Linked DNA regions of Homo sapiens: region 2 is linked to region 1. Evidence: promoter capture Hi-C in 16 types of primary human blood cells and fetal thymus (Javierre and others, 2016). All regions are on one chromosome and are shown on one strand. Each heading gives the region's core, a stretch centred on a gene start or on the middle of the fragment in contact. The rest is flanking DNA. Distances are from core to core; before and after follow the strand shown. Region 1 holds the start of KGD4 (alpha-ketoglutarate dehydrogenase subunit 4). Region 2 holds the start of MAST4-AS1 (MAST4 antisense RNA 1).

Evidence for each region. Contacts are between HindIII fragments. The CHiCAGO score rates a contact against its expected background, and 5 or more counts as called.
Region 2: a contact is called between the fragment with the promoter of MAST4-AS1 here and the fragment with the promoter of KGD4 in region 1, in 3 of 17 cell types (non-activated CD4 T cells, total CD4 T cells and activated CD4 T cells). The highest score is 9.5, in non-activated CD4 T cells.

The regions. Positions count from the first base shown.
Region 1 is chr5:69,213,241-69,220,795 of GRCh38, forward strand. It overlaps KGD4 (alpha-ketoglutarate dehydrogenase subunit 4), which reads left to right and starts at 4,520. Exons shown (of 4, transcript NM_033281.6): 1 at 4,520-4,631. The coding sequence starts at 4,590. RefSeq lists enhancers at 4,802-5,096, 6,745-7,369. The HindIII fragment of the contact is 5,941 bases long and covers 3,574-7,555 here.
Region 2 is chr5:67,000,012-67,007,566 of GRCh38, forward strand. It overlaps MAST4-AS1 (MAST4 antisense RNA 1), which reads right to left and starts at 4,143. Exons shown (of 2, transcript NR_111908.1): 1 at 3,833-4,143; 2 at 1,607-2,038. The region is part of intron 4 of MAST4 (microtubule associated serine/threonine kinase family member 4); the gene reads left to right. RefSeq lists a silencer at 4,021-4,360. The HindIII fragment of the contact is 7,419 bases long and covers 993-7,555 here.

The DNA.
Region 1 (7,555 bases), core at 3,270-5,769:
TGGGAGGCTGAGGCAGGCAGATCATGAGGTCTGGAGATTGAGACCATCCTGGCTAATACGGTGAAACCTTGTCTGTACTAAAAATACAAAAAATTAGCTGGGTGTGGTGGCGGGCGCCTGTAGTACCAGCTACTCCAGAGGCTGAGGCAGGAGAATGGCGTGAATCCGGGAGGCGGAGCTTGCAGTGAGCCGAGATCGTGCCACTGCACTCCAGCCTGGGTGACAGCGAGACTCCATCTCAAAAAACCTCAGTGGTAGTTGTCTGCTATCTAAGGCTAACAATAAAAGGCTGTTACAGAGCTGTATGGCAGGGCCACCCCTGTATGGAGGGCAGACTCCAGACCTGTAGAGCCATCAGCATGCAATACTTGCCTGAGAGAGCCCAGGTACCTCTCTTCAACTGCTGAGAGCTGCTGGGTTGGAACTGTGCCCATCAAAACCATGGGGTAGGGCTGCCCCGGGGCTTTGGGGGTCCAACCCCCAGCCCAATGCATCCTGAAGGCAAGATACTGAGTCAAGAATTATTCTCAAGCTTCAAGAGTTAATGTTGTTGGCCTTTTGGGTTTTTAACTTACTTGGGACCTATTACTCCTTTCTTCTTGCCTATTTCTCCCTCTTGGAATGGGAATGTCAGTCCTGTTCCTGACCCATCATTGTGTTTTGGAAGCACATGTATTTGATTTCACAGGCTCACAGCTGCAGGAGAAGTTGCCTCAGGATGAGTCATGGCCTTGAGTCTCATCCATATCTGATTTAGGTGAGACTCTGGACTTTATAGTTTTGAGTTGGTGCTGGAATGAGTTGAGACTTTTGGGGCTACTGGGATGGATAAATGTATTTTTGGGTTTTTTTTGTTTGTCTTTTGAGACAGTGTTTCCCTTTGTCCCCCAGGCTGAAGTGCAGTGGTACGATCTTGGCTCACTGTGAACAACTTCCGCCTCCCAGGTTCAAGCAATTCTCATGCCTCGGCTTCCAAGTAGCTGGGATTATAGGCATACACCACCACGCTCAGCTAATTTTTTTTATTTTTAGTAGAGACAGGGTTTCACCGTGTTGGCCAGGCTGGCCTGGAATTCGTGACCTCAAGTGATCCGTCTGCCTCAGCCTCCCAAAGTGCTGGGATTACAGGTGTGAGCAACAAGCGTCCGATAAATGTATTTTGCATGTGAGTAGGACATAAATTTGGGGGGCCAAAGGCGGTAAGCTATGGTCTGACTGTGTCCTTCAAAATTCATCTATTGAAAATTGCTAATGTGACAATACGAAAAGGTATTGGAAATGATTAAATCATGAGTACAGAACCATCATGGATGAGATTAAGGCCCTTAAAAAAAGGTTTGAGGGCCAGGCACAATGGCTCACACCTGTAATCCCAGCATTTTGGGCGGCCAAAGTGGGCCGATCACCTGAGGTCAGGAGTTCAAAGCCAGCCTGTCCAACATGGCAAAACCCCATCTCTACTAAAAATACAAAAATTAGCTGGGTGTGGTAGAGGGCGCCTGTAATCCCAGCTACTTGGGAGGCTGCAACAGGAGAATCGCTTGAACCCAGGAGATGGAGGTTGCAGTGAGCCGAGATTGTGCCACTGCACTCCAGCCTGGGTGACAGAACAAGACTGTCTCAAAAAAAAAAAAAAAAAAAGTTTGAGGGAATGGGTTCCTTCTCTTCTGCCCTTCTGCCATGTGAGCACACAGTGTTAAACCCCTCGGATGAAGCAGTGTTCAAAGCACCATCTTGGAAGAAAAGACTGAGCCCTCACAAAACACCGAAACTGCTGGTACTTTGATCTTAGACTTTTGAGCCTCCTGAACATGAGAAATAAATTTCTGTGGTTATAAATTACCCATACTAAGGTATTTTGTTACAGTAGCACACATGGACTAACAGAGGAGCTAATCAACATTTATAGAATACTCCACCAAACAACAGCAGAACACTCTTTTCAAGTGCTTACAGAACATAAACAACATAGACCATATCCTGGATGACAAAATATCAACAAATATAAAAGAATTGAAATTATACAGACTGTGTTCTGACTACAAGGGAATCAAATGAGGAATCAGTAACAGTCAGATAACAGGAAAATTTCCAAATACTTGGAAACTGAACACACTTTTAAATGAGGCATAGGTCAAAGGAGTCTCAAATGAAAATTTTCTAAAAAGCATTGAACTGGGCCAGGTGCGGTGGCTCACACCTGTAATCCCAGCACTTTGGGAGGCCAAGGTGGGCGGATCACCTGAGGTCAGGAGTTTGAGATCATTCTGGCCAACACGGAGAAACCCTGTCTCTACTAAAAATACAAAAATTAGCTGGGCGTGGTGGTGGGCACCTGTAATCCCAGCCACTCAGGAGGATGAGGCAGGAGAATCAGTTGAACCCAGGAGGCAGAGGTTGCATTGAGCTGAGATCATGCCACTGCATCCAGCCTGGGTGTCACAGCGAGACTCTGTCTCAAAAAAAAAAAAAAATTATCGGCTGGGCACGGTGGCTCACACCTGTAATCCCAGCACTTTGGGAGGCTGAGGCGGGCAGATCACGAGGTCAGGAGATGGAGACTATCCTGGCTAACACAGTGAAACCCTGTCTCTACTAAAAATACAAAAAAAATTAGCCTGGTGTGGTGGCGGGTGCCTGTAGTCCCAGCTACCTGGGAGGCTGAGGTGGGAGAATGGTGTGAACCAGGGAGGCGGAGCTTGCAGTGAGCCGAGTTGGCACCACTGCACTCCAGCCTGGGTGACAGAGCAAGACTCTGTCTCAAAAAAAAAAAGAATTACCACAGATGAATGGATAAGCAAAATGTGGTATACACATATAATGGGATTTTTTCAGCCTTAAAAAAGAAATTCTGACACATTCTACAACATGAATGAACTCTGAAGACATGCTAAGTGAAACAAGCTAATTACAAAAGGACAAATACTGTTATGGCTCCACGTACATTAAGTACCCACAGTAGTCAAATTCATAGACAGAAAGTAAAATGATAGTTGTCAGAGGCTGAGGGAAGGAGGAATAAGTTTTTGTTTAATGGGTACAGTTTCTGAAGATGGTAACAATTGCCCAACAATGTGAATGTACTTAATGTGACTGAACTGCACATTTGAAAATAATTAAAATGGGGCCAGGCGCAGTGGCTCACGCCTGTAATACCAGCACTTAGGGAGGCTGAGGTGGGTGGATCACTTGAGGCCAGGAGTTGGAGATTAGTCTGGCCAATATGGTGAAACTCTGTCTCTACCAAAAATACAAAAATTAGCCAGGCGTGGTGGCGGGCGTCTGTAATCCCAGCTACTGGGGAGGCTGAGGCTGGAGAATTGCTTGAATCCAGGAGGCAAAGGTTGCAGTGACCTGAGATCACGCCACAGCACTCCAGGCTGGGCAACAGAGCGAGACTCCGTCTCAAAAAAAAAAAAAAAAACCACAAAAACAAAACAAAACAAAACGGGTTAATGGCCTCTCTGTAGTCACTGAATCCCAATAGACCATACCTGGGTTCAGTAATTTATATTTCTAAAAAGATCCCAAGACTTAGAAATCACTGATGTATATCATCAAACACATTGGTCAAGCTTACAATACTATATATAACCTAAGCATTATCACAGAACGTAATGTAACTTTTTTTTTTTTTGAGACGGAGTCTCCCTCTGTCGCTCAGGCCGGAGTGCAGTGGCACACTCTCGGCTTACTGCAACCTCTGCCTTCTGGGTTCAAGCAATTCTCCTGCCTCACCTCCTGAGTAGCTGGGACTACAGGCGCCCGCCACCACGCCCGGCTAATTTTTGTATTTTTAGTAGAGACAGGGTTTTACAATGTTGGCCAGTCTGGTGTCGAACTCCTGACCTCAAGTGATCCGCCCGCCTCAGCCTCCCAAAGTGCTGGCATTACAGGCGTGAGCCATAGCGCCCCGCCCGTAATGTAATTTTGGGGGAAAGATATGAGTGGCTTACATTTCAAATATTTCTGAATTTTTGAGTTATCTCAACTTGAAGCAAAGGCCCAGCAGTTCGATATCAGGAGTAATAAACGGTAAAGAAAACAGAAACAAATTACAATCAAGCAATGCCAATCAGCAAGAGAGTGTGACATGGCCCTTTTTAAGCCAGAGTAAACTCTTGTGAGCTTGCCACTAACTCCCATTTTAACGAAATTATTCATTTTAGGAAACCGCAAGGTTTTTTTTTTGTTTTTCTTTAATTTTTTTAATCTTTGCAAGAGCTGTCAGATAAGAAGGTTGTATTATTTATTTGGTTCCAGATAAAATTTTGAACTATATCGAAATTATAGACTGGCTTTCTGGAAAGGAAATGGTCCTAGACAATTTATAGGCTAATGAGCAGAGACCCACCTTAACAAAATTTTGTCCCCAAAACGAAACAATAGAACACACGTGGGTGGATCCTAGTAGGGAGAAGGGGTGGGCGGGGTCAGGCACAGGGGGCGGAGCCAGCCCCACGGCGGAGGAGAGCCCAGTCCGGTCTCCGCCTCCGTGACGTCCCGGGAAGCACCGCCCACAGCTGCCCGGGACTCCAGTGATCGCCGCGGCTCGCTCGCGCCCCGGAAACTGCCCCTTCTCGGGGGTCATGATGGGCAGCAAGATGGCGTCTGCTAGTAGGGTCGTTCAGGTAAAGCAATTTGTCGCGTTTCCGCATCTTGGGCGGTAGGGACGGTGCTGACTATGGCGACGGCGTCGGGGAGTAAAGGCGGTGGCAGAGGCAGAGCGGTGACCGCGCCTCTGCGGAGGGCCAGTGACGGCGCCCGCGGGTGTGTGTGAGGATGGGACTTTGAGCCTGTTGGACCGGGCAGTGAGGTGGGTCCGGCGCCGAGGGTTCGAGCCTTGCGGCAACCGTGCAGCATCTTGGCAGGTAGGTCCTGTACCTACTGCCGGGATCCCCCGCTCCTCCGCCAGGACCTTGTTAGTCTTAGGCGTGTGCGGGTGAGGCGACCCTGGCGGTAGCCTGGCCAATCGCCGTCTAGGATTGGCTGTGGTGCCCCCGATCAGCCAATCGGAAGGAAGGCGGTAGCGGGGCGTGGAAGGAAGCGAACCCTGGATCTGACCCACTGTCCCTTCAAGGTCTCGGGAATGGTCGGGCAACTGGCCCCGCGTACTGCGTCCTCGCCGGAGCGGGTTCTCCCCAACCTCTCCAAGCGTCTGGCTACAGGCCAGATGAGGGAAATAGAAAAGTAAACTTAAGTTTAATTAGTATGTGTGTGTGTATATTAATGTGTGTGTGTGTGTGTGTGTGTGTGTGTATAAGCGTTGGTTTCACAAGCCTATTTTCCCCTGGTTTAGATAGACAGCTAAAGTAACTTTGTTAATCCACCTATCAGCTACTAACTCCTGATAGCCTTTTTATTTGTTTCTTCAGCTGTGGTTCTAACTTAGGTAAAATTATTATATAAGTGGAACACAACCTCCACTTTTGTGGTTGGTTTACATAGTCTTTGAACCCTGAAACTATATTATTTTATAATTGACTTTTATCTTTGATATGAGAAGTACATTCCGCTTTATATAAGTACATCTCTTAAAAGACCTTTTTCTAAATTCCTGAAATTGTTGTCTGAATGATAATCCTAGATCCCAGTCTTTGGTCCCATTGCAATGAATGATCCTTACTTATTCAGTAGGTAGTTACTGAGCATCAACTAGTTAAAGATTCTGTAAGGACTGAGAGACTGACAAAGGTCTGTTATCCATAATATATAACCATATGTATCAATAATATATAACAATTTAAAAATGGGTAAAAGACTTGGCGTGTTGCACAAAAGATACCCAAATGAGCAATGAACATTTTAAAAGGTGCTCAATATCATTACTTGCCAGGAAAATAAAAATTAAAACCATGAGGTCCTACACATCCACCAAAATGACTAAAATTTAGACGTCAGTGGTGATGAGAATGTGAAGCGTCTGAAACCCTCAATATTGCTGGTGGGAATATAAAATGTTATAGCCACTTTGGAAAGCTGTCAGTCTCTAATAGTTAAGCATGTATCTACCGTATGACCCAGCAATTCTACTCATAGGTTTATTGCCCAAGAGAAGTGAATGCACATACTGTCTCTGTACGTAAATGTTCACAGAAAAAAAAGAGTTACTAGCAAAGAACTGGGGTCCAGAGCTGAGGGGTTCCAGCCTGGCAGCAGGAGTGTGGCATCTCAGCAGGCAGGTACTATATATACTGCCATGGGGTCCCTGGCTCTATTTCTGATAGCCCCCAAACCACAAACAATCTCTATGTCTGTCTTTTGCATAAACAAATTGTGGTAGTTTGTTAAAATAGTACAGTCCAAAGCAATACTAACAGCTGATGTGTGCAAACAAATGAAGAAACTGTGAGATATACAGTAAGGAATGGTCTGTGCCCTTCTAACATAGGAACAAAGACCTGTACTCACCTATTTAGAATTCAAATCAGGTTCGTGATTGCGCTCTTAAAAAAAAAGAAAAAAAGAGAGAATACAACCAATATGCTAATATAATATCACTTGAGCCTAGGAGTTTGACGCTGCAGTGAACCACAATCACCCCACTGCACCCCAGCCTGTGTAACAGAGCAAGACCTGGTCTCGAAAAATAAATAATAAAGTATGTGCTAATATTATGTAATAATTACATATAACATTAGCAAAATTTGTTGAGTATCTCTGTGACAGGCCTATAAAGCTAGGACTACAGTGCCAGTTAGAGTTTAGGCCAGGCTCACTGATGTATGCCTGTAATCCCAACACTTTGGTAGTTTGAGGCAGGAGGATGGCTTGAGCCCAGGAGTTCAAGACCAGCCTGGGCAAAATAGCAAGACCCCATCTCTATAAAAATTTTAAAAAATTAGCTGAGCATGGTGATGTGCACCTGTGGTCCCAGCTACTCAGGAGGCTGAGGTGGGAAGATTGAGCCTGGGTGATCAAGGCTACAGTGAGCCATAATCATGCCACTGCATTCCAGCCTGGACAGTAGAGCTAGACCCTGACTCAAAAAAAAAAAACAAAAAAACATAGAGCTTAGAATTTGGTTGTTGATCCATATCTTGAAGGAAGAGAAGAGTGCCAAAAGACTGATTGGTACAAACTGATAGGAAGTCACAAAGCGTGGTCTCAGAACATTAAGTAAAGACAAAGCCAGCTGGGCACGGTGGCTCACACCTGTACTCCCAACACTTTGGAAAGCCAAGGTGGGAAGATTGCTTGAGCCAGGAGTTCAAGATTAGCCTAGGCAACATAGCAAGACCCCATCTCTATAAAAATTAGCCAGGCAGCCGCCCCGTCTGGGAAGTGAGGAGCGCCTCTGCCCGGCCGCCCCGTCTGGGATGTGAGGAGCGCCTCTGCCCGGCCGCCACCCCGTCTGGGAAGTGAGGAGCGCCTCTGCCTGGCCGCAGTGCAATCTTCCAAGTGTGAAGTGACAGCCTTTCTGCAGGTGTACCCAACAGCTCTGAAGAGACAGCAACCATCGAGAACGGGCCATGATGACGATGGCGGTTTTGTCGAAAAGAAAAGGGGGAAATGTGGGGAAAAGAAAGAGAGATCAGATTGTTACTGTGTCTGT
Region 2 (7,555 bases), core at 2,893-5,392, 2.2 Mb before region 1:
TTAAACTTTATTTCTTGGGATGTACAAAATGATTACAAGGATTGCTCATTCAGGACAGCCAGTTTGCTGTTCACAGTTCTAGCCTCAAACTCTCAAGACCACATTTAGAAGGTGACCAAAGTGGACTTGAAGGTGTGGACAGCCCTAGGGAACTAGTCACTTCTAGGTGCCCTGAAAATGGGGATGGGAAGATGTCAAAGTTAGTTTAGGGCAAAATCCTTAGAATAGGCCAGGATCAGGTAGAGTGCTTAGGAAATCTCAACTTAGTGTCTTATTGGGCATGGCCTCATGGCCCGAGTGTCCTGCACAGGGAGCTGACAGCTTTGCAGACTTCACATCCACACTAGAAAACTAAGTCTTTTCATAGAATCTAAGTTCAAGACAAGACTCCAGGCATATTATCTTTTAACATTGTTCTACGTGGACTGGAGAAAACCCCTTCTTAAAGGGCATGTGTTGCCGGCTGTGGTGGCTCACGCCTGTAAGCACTTTGGGAGGCTGAGGCGGGTGGATTACCTGCAGTCAGGAGTTCGAGACCAGCCTGCCTAACATGGTGAAACCCCGTCCCTACTAAAAATACAAAAAAATTAGTTGGGTGTGGTGGCGACTGCCTGTAATCCCAGCTACTTGGGAGGCTGAGGCAGGAGAATCGCTTGAACCTGAGAGGCAGAGGTTGCAGTAAGCCAAGATCGCGCCACTGCACTCCAGCCTGGGCGACAAGAGTGAAACTCTGTCTAAAAAAAAAGGGGGGGGGTGGCTTGTGTCAACAGGTGGGCAGTAGACAGAATTCAAGTCAGTAAAAAGGACCTGGCATTTTTTGTATGTAGAAGGGGAGGTAATAGTGAAGGATTTGACCCTTTCTTAAATACTTATTTCTTCCTAAGCTTGCATTTCAGTAGGATGACAAGCTTGTTTTTTAGTTTCATTTACCTTACAAAACCAATGGCTAACAATGTCATCCTGATTAAATGAATGAAAGTTCTGAACCACAAAGCTTGTCCATTGTTGTATAGGCTTAGTTGTTACACAATAGAAAATCCTGCTGAATATCTCTATATTGACCTAGACCAGCTATAGTCTTAAGAATTTCCAGTAATCTCAGTTCCCTCTTTGTTCTGCAGTTGAGTTTTACTGCAGTCGCAACTATAGTTTCTGCCCATATAATTATTTTGTAGGAAAATGTCAGTAGTTTTGACAATTTTAATTCTTGTGTTTACCGACTGCTCTGCCTTCTGAATCATATGTAACCAAATCAAGTCAAACAGGTTAGAAGACAACTCACACTTCAGTGTCATCTGTACTCTTATCTTCATGAGTGTGGGAATGTACAATCCACTTTCGCTCACTATATTAATTCATTCTGGTTCCTCATGTACTTAACCTATTTTTATTTTTTCAGTTTGGATACAACCCAAATCCTCTCAAGCCTTTTAAATGCAAAAAAAAAAAATAAATTTAAAGTATATGTAGTTAAAAATACTCATGTCTTTACCCATTCCTTTGAGAATTTCTGTAGAGGCTTTCTCAAAATGCAGAGAGTGGAGGCAGTCATAACATATGATGCCTGCAGATTGGGGTATCTGTCATTTAATCAAGAGAAGAAATAAACATTTTATGTCATTGATTTATCCATTTTAGTTGCTATCATCTTTATAGGTTATGCCCCAATACATGGGCTTTTCTAGAAAAACTATAGAGAATATGAGAGTTGGGAGGTATTGGAGTCCTCAGGTCTTCAAACCACCTACAGGTTGTGTTCTACTCACTGTATCTCCTTCAAGTTTTCTCTGCTCAAACAGCTCTCAGAAAATCCACTCTTGTGTCAGCTCTTTCATCTTTGGATCCAAACACTCTTTCACATAGTTCTCATAGTTTCACATAGCTGTATTCAACTACTGCTTGTTCCCTAAATTTTTTCTTCTCTACTTTCCACAGAGTTCTTCAACCCATAACTTATATAGCACAAGTTCATGTCCACCTTGATTACTCTTCTCTGTGCGGCTTATAATATGTAATTGTCCCTCTTGATCTTGGATACCTACAAGTGAGCACAAAAAGTTATTCTCTGGGCTTGCCTTTGAGGAGGGGACATGGGACTCAAAGGGAATTCCCCTTGAGTTTGATTGTGACATTTCTTAGAGCCATGTAAAGACCTGAGGAATGTTAGCACTGATATCTTTCCAGCTACATGATATAGATACAAATAAGTCACTAAGAGAAAGTCTTCAGAATTTACCGTCTTCATGGGATTCTCAAAAATTCAGTATTCTTTGAGAATACAGATCTACTAGTACTAATAGTTTCAGTGCATCTTAAGAGAAATAAGAGATACTTGGGCTTCTGAAGTATCCATTCAAAAAGGATTTACTAATATTAAATGCCTATATAAACTGAGGAGCTGTCAGGTTCTGAAAATATGAAGATCAGTAAAATGTGACTTTAGCCTTGAGGAACTCAGACTAATTGGAAAGACAGCAGTAAACAGTCAATTATACACAGTGTGATCAGCAGCCTGGTTGAAGACTCTAGAGAGTAGAAAGAAGCACATTGTGGGGTGTCCTCTGCTCCAGTCTTATGTCTGTCAGCATAGTATTCTCTTAGCTTCTGTATACTGCCTACATTTATGCGCAGTGTGTGTGTAGACATTGCGTGAAAGGGCTTATGTATGCCATCTCCTCTTCATTTATGTATATCAGCCTCTTACAGGTTGGTCCTATTATGGACCCCATATTGCAGCTGGGGAAAATGAGAAGAGATTTAAGGTCATAGTAAGTGTTGTATCCAGAATTCAGACCCAAAATTTTTGCTCTAAACCAGTGCTCTGTATCACCCCTCTCAGAGAAGCCTTTATCTGGAGCAGTGGTTCCCAACCAGGGGTGATTTTACCTCCCAAGGGACATTTGGCAATGTCCTCAGACATTTTTAATTGTCAGCACTGGCATCTAGTAGGTCGAGGTCAGCAATGTTGCTAAACATCCTCCAATGCTCAAGAAAGCTCCTCAGACAAAGAATTATCCAGCCTATGTCAACAGTGCTGAGGTCTAGAAACTGCTCCGGAGCACAGGGACACTCTTTTGTGTCAGCCTTCAAAACATCTTTTGCAATACTTAGAAACATTTTTTAAAAGAAGAGCATGGGGCAAAAATGCTGGACCAAGCTCATTAATATCTATTGAAGTGTGTTTTGTCATTTAGTGTCCCTGAATGTTTGGGATAAAGTCCCAAATGTAAAATTGAGAAAATAATGCCTTCTTTGTCTACCTCTGTGGGTTGCAAGGATCTGTGGAGGCTCTGTAAGAATGTGAGGAGATAACGCATACGAAAGCCTTGGACATGAAACATCATCCAAAACTCTTGGAGTCCTTGGTGTGAAAATATTAATGTGGGCCACAAGAATTAGATAAAGAAGATCCCACAGCAGGCTTCTTTTTGTTTACCCCGCCTACCTTGTCAGCTTACACCCCCTCTTCCTTCTCTTTATCCTCCCATTTTTGTAAGCGAGTTTGTTCCTGGTATTTACTGCATGGACTAAGCCATTTTTAGATGTATTTTTTGCTGAATATATACTTTTTTGATTTAGTATTTCTTGCCATATTACACCAGACTTAAGGCAGCTAATTTAAATTATATTTTTTCTTTATGTACTTTATACAAACATTCATGGATAGGGGGAGATATTTAAATACCATGCCTTTCTTCAAAATGAATAACAAGAACATTCAGCCCCCTTCATTCTGCCCTTTCAAGGTCTAACGTACTTGAAGGGGCAATACTTGTAGCATTTGCCACATAAATGCCAGGTAGTGTCTTTCCACATCGGGGCTCACCATTACCTAGATCTGTAGTTGCCGGCCATGAAGCCAAACAGGTGTGCACCGTGGTCATTGATGGAACAGATGTAAACTCATAAATTTAGTTTACTGAGGTTTTCGGTGAGTGTGGCTTCCCGTCCGCGTGCTTTTCCTATACAACCAGCGGCGTCCTGGCGGAGGAGTCACTGTGGACTTCCCCGGAGCGTTGTCACTGCCATCCCTCCCGCGGTGAATCACAGGTCGGCCTCAGGTGCGCGCAGCACACACCCGGAGCAGCCGCGGGTTTATTTATTTATTTCCGGGACGGATCCATTCCGGGCTCCGGGGAGGGGGAGCGGCGGCCCAGGCTGCGGGGCTGTCCCGGCACCGGCTGGGGTCGCGCCGCGGCCGCCTGCTCCCTTTCCCGTGAGCCCCCGCTCCTCAGGCGCGGCCGGGGCTGGTGGGGGGTGGGGGATGCAGGAAAGCTGGGGGCGCGGCCACCAAGCTGTCCAGGGACAAGGCCCTGCCGCCTCCTCCCAGCCGGACCCTGGAAGGGTCCACAAAGGTGTCAGGTTCAAGTCCTCCAATAGGCCCATTTTTTAAAAGTGCTTTTAAGTTTCCGCTTTTTTCAGGAGGGGAGGGCAAGAGCAGCTTTTTCTATTCAAATTCTTTTCCTTGTATGTAGATACCAAAAGGAAACTCGGCACTGGGCATGTTCGGATGTGAATGGTTTTGCTGATAAGCAACAGCCTCCGGAACCAAAGCCTCAAAATAGTCGTCTCCCCCGCCCCTCGCAGAAGCGGCGAGTGGTATCTGCCAAACAGATGACAAAGTACCTCCGACTGAATCCCACAGACAGCGCTTTGAGCAGAACGCACGGCTCAACTCATGTAATTACTGTTTATAGCTGGCCGAGCCTGACTAGGAGAGGGCAGACCCGAGAGGAAATCAGTTTCCCGGACCTTTGAGAGGAGGCTGTGTGTTAATTAAAGGCTAGGACGGGACGGGTACTTCTCAGACATGCTCCAAGTTGTTCTTGAGATCACAGTTCCCATCACATTTTCTCTGGAGGGAGTGAGTAGATAATTGGGATTTTTTTTTTATTTTTGGCCTTGTCTTTCTTCCTTTTTTTTACCTCTCCCCATTTTAGTCATATGGCCTTGAACCCACAGTGAATTGAAGAGAGAAAGAAATGGATATGTCTGACCCCAATTTTTGGACTGTGCTCTCAAACTTTACTTTGCCTCATTTGAGGAGTGGGAACAGGCTTCGGCGAACACAAAGGTAAAAACGCGGGGATCTCTGCCTGGAGAGGGAATGCTTTCACTTCCCAGGGGCCCACAGGCGGAGCTGCCTGAGCCCCTCAGGAGCTGGGGTTTTGTGTATTGGGTGACACTTTGAAAAGTTTATGCCCCGCTAGGGGAGGGGGTACTGTTTCAGGTATTTCTTCGTCCTTGTGGTTTCCTGGGTAACCCTGATAAATGTGCTTCTCATAGGTTTTCTCCTTTTGAAATGTGGATAATAAGACATTTCCTTGTGAGAGGTGGGGGAGAAAAAGGGAAAGAGGAGGAGATACTTTGTCTAAGTCTGTCCCTTTGACCTGATCATGTTTATCCATTTCATTCACCCAGTCATTGAGGCTTCTGGTACTTTTCGTTGAGCCCTTCAGATGTTCCTCTCTATTAAATATTTGACCTTTATAAGATGCAGATGTACGATGCAAGGATAGCCCAGGTTAGCTATTTCATACTATCTGTGGAGAGGCAGATCTACATAACTTTGTCATTTTGATTTTTCAATGGTTTGCTGGCATTTATTACTAATACAGGAGTGTCCTTTTCATTTTGTAACGTATATTTGATAGAAAAGATGGGGAAAGAAAAAGAATTTTAATGTCAAGATGAAGCTCATGCCACAAGTGACAGGCAGTTCCAAGAGTTTGCTGACACTTGTGTTGAGAGACTATGACTTTGAAGGAGGCATTTCTCACCACATTTGTGTCCAGCACAGAAAAGTAAGATTGTTGTACTTTTAGAGGGGCACACCTTTTGAGTTGTGTTAATACTGATTCTTTGTTTTCCTTCAAAACTTGCCTTGCATGTACATGTGAACATGCATGAGAGCAACTTTGCAGTCAGATAAACAGGATGCAGGCTCTCAGATTTGGAGCTTCACAATCTCTATGCTTCAGTGTTCAAAGAACCCAAGAAAATGGTTCGTTCTTTTTGGTTATACCTGTAACTTTTTGTAGTATAAATGTGGATATGTGATACTTTAGAAAACTTAGTTTTTCCTTTTGAAGTTTTTCATGGTTTCTTACATTTCAGAAACATCCTGGAATACTCACATACACTGTTTATATACATGGGTGCACACACAAATCACATGTGCACCTGTGTGTATGAGAGAGACATCTGGCAGGTTTCAAAGTCATATTTGCTTTTTGATGCAGTTTGAAGTGTTGATACCACTAAACTATGTTGGATTCTGAAGTTGTACCTTTTAAGTAATGTGACTATGTTTTTCTCGTTCTGCCATATATGGTCAGAGACCCTCTCTTGTAGTATTGCTCATTTTGTAGTATTGCTCATCAAGTTGTGTCAACCATGCACCAAACCTCCAAGACAACTAATAAAGTTGAAGAGAGATACATGCTACACATGAACTAGGCCACTGCTCAACATGGTGATAATTCGTATGATTTCTTACCATTTCAGCTGGACAGAATCCCTTAAATATTTCTGAGTTGTGTAGTCCTGGCTGCGGTACAGCCTCTACTCTTACCTGGAACCAGTTCTTAGGGAGAGAAGTCTGTTCTGGCATCGTATGTGTGTGTCTGAACCCGTAGAGCAGTTGGAGCCTTTCTTCTTCCTACCTACCTGTTGATAGTATTATTGGAGAGAGTCAGATGCAGGAGGATTCTCAGGCTGCTCTGAGCCTGGCTTTAGGGCAGTACCTGTCCAGCCTGAACACTCCAATTCAGACAGCTCACACTGACAGAGAGCCTAGATTCTAAGGAAACCTGAATTCTTCCCAGTAAAATGGGAGAGCATTGGGTGGGCTGTTTCCACCCCAAGTCATGAAACCGTATCTTCAATTTGGCAAAATAGAGAGGGAAGGGGATTTTCTTCTCCCCCTTTTAAGAGTAAAGGTTATGACAGCCTGTTTGTTGCTGGAGATTTTCAGGTTTTGCAGTTTGGAAATAAACATCCCAAAGATCATCTCTACATCCATCGAGTCATTGTCTGTCTCAAAGGGCTAGCATTGCTTTATATTTATTATGTAGATTCAGAAGGCTAGGTATCCTCATCTCCAGGGCAATGTATGTGGCTATTGCATCCTGTTATTATACAGTGATCAATTCTGGCTCCATGTCCTTCCCTAAGGACATGAAACATGTGCTTACATTGTGACTTCTACTTTTGAGATGCCCCTTAACTGTTCTAAATCCTGTTTCCTTTTCCAAGTCTAATGCTGTACCTTACCGGGCTGAGTAGTTTTTCTCCTTTCCAAAGGACCTTTCTGTTCGCAAGTTGTTCTGTTTTGCCATCCTCGATAAGGGTGTCCCCAGTGTCCAGGTGAGGACACCTTGCTGTCATCATCAGTCAGATATGCCTTAACCCTTGAGATATCTCTCATTCCCAAACTTAGTTCCTCTCCTGCACACTTGCTGACTTGTGTGACAGATTGTTCATTTTGAATATTTTATCCCATCTGTTTGTTCTGATTAACATTGTAATCTGGAGGACTTTATCTTAGCTTTTT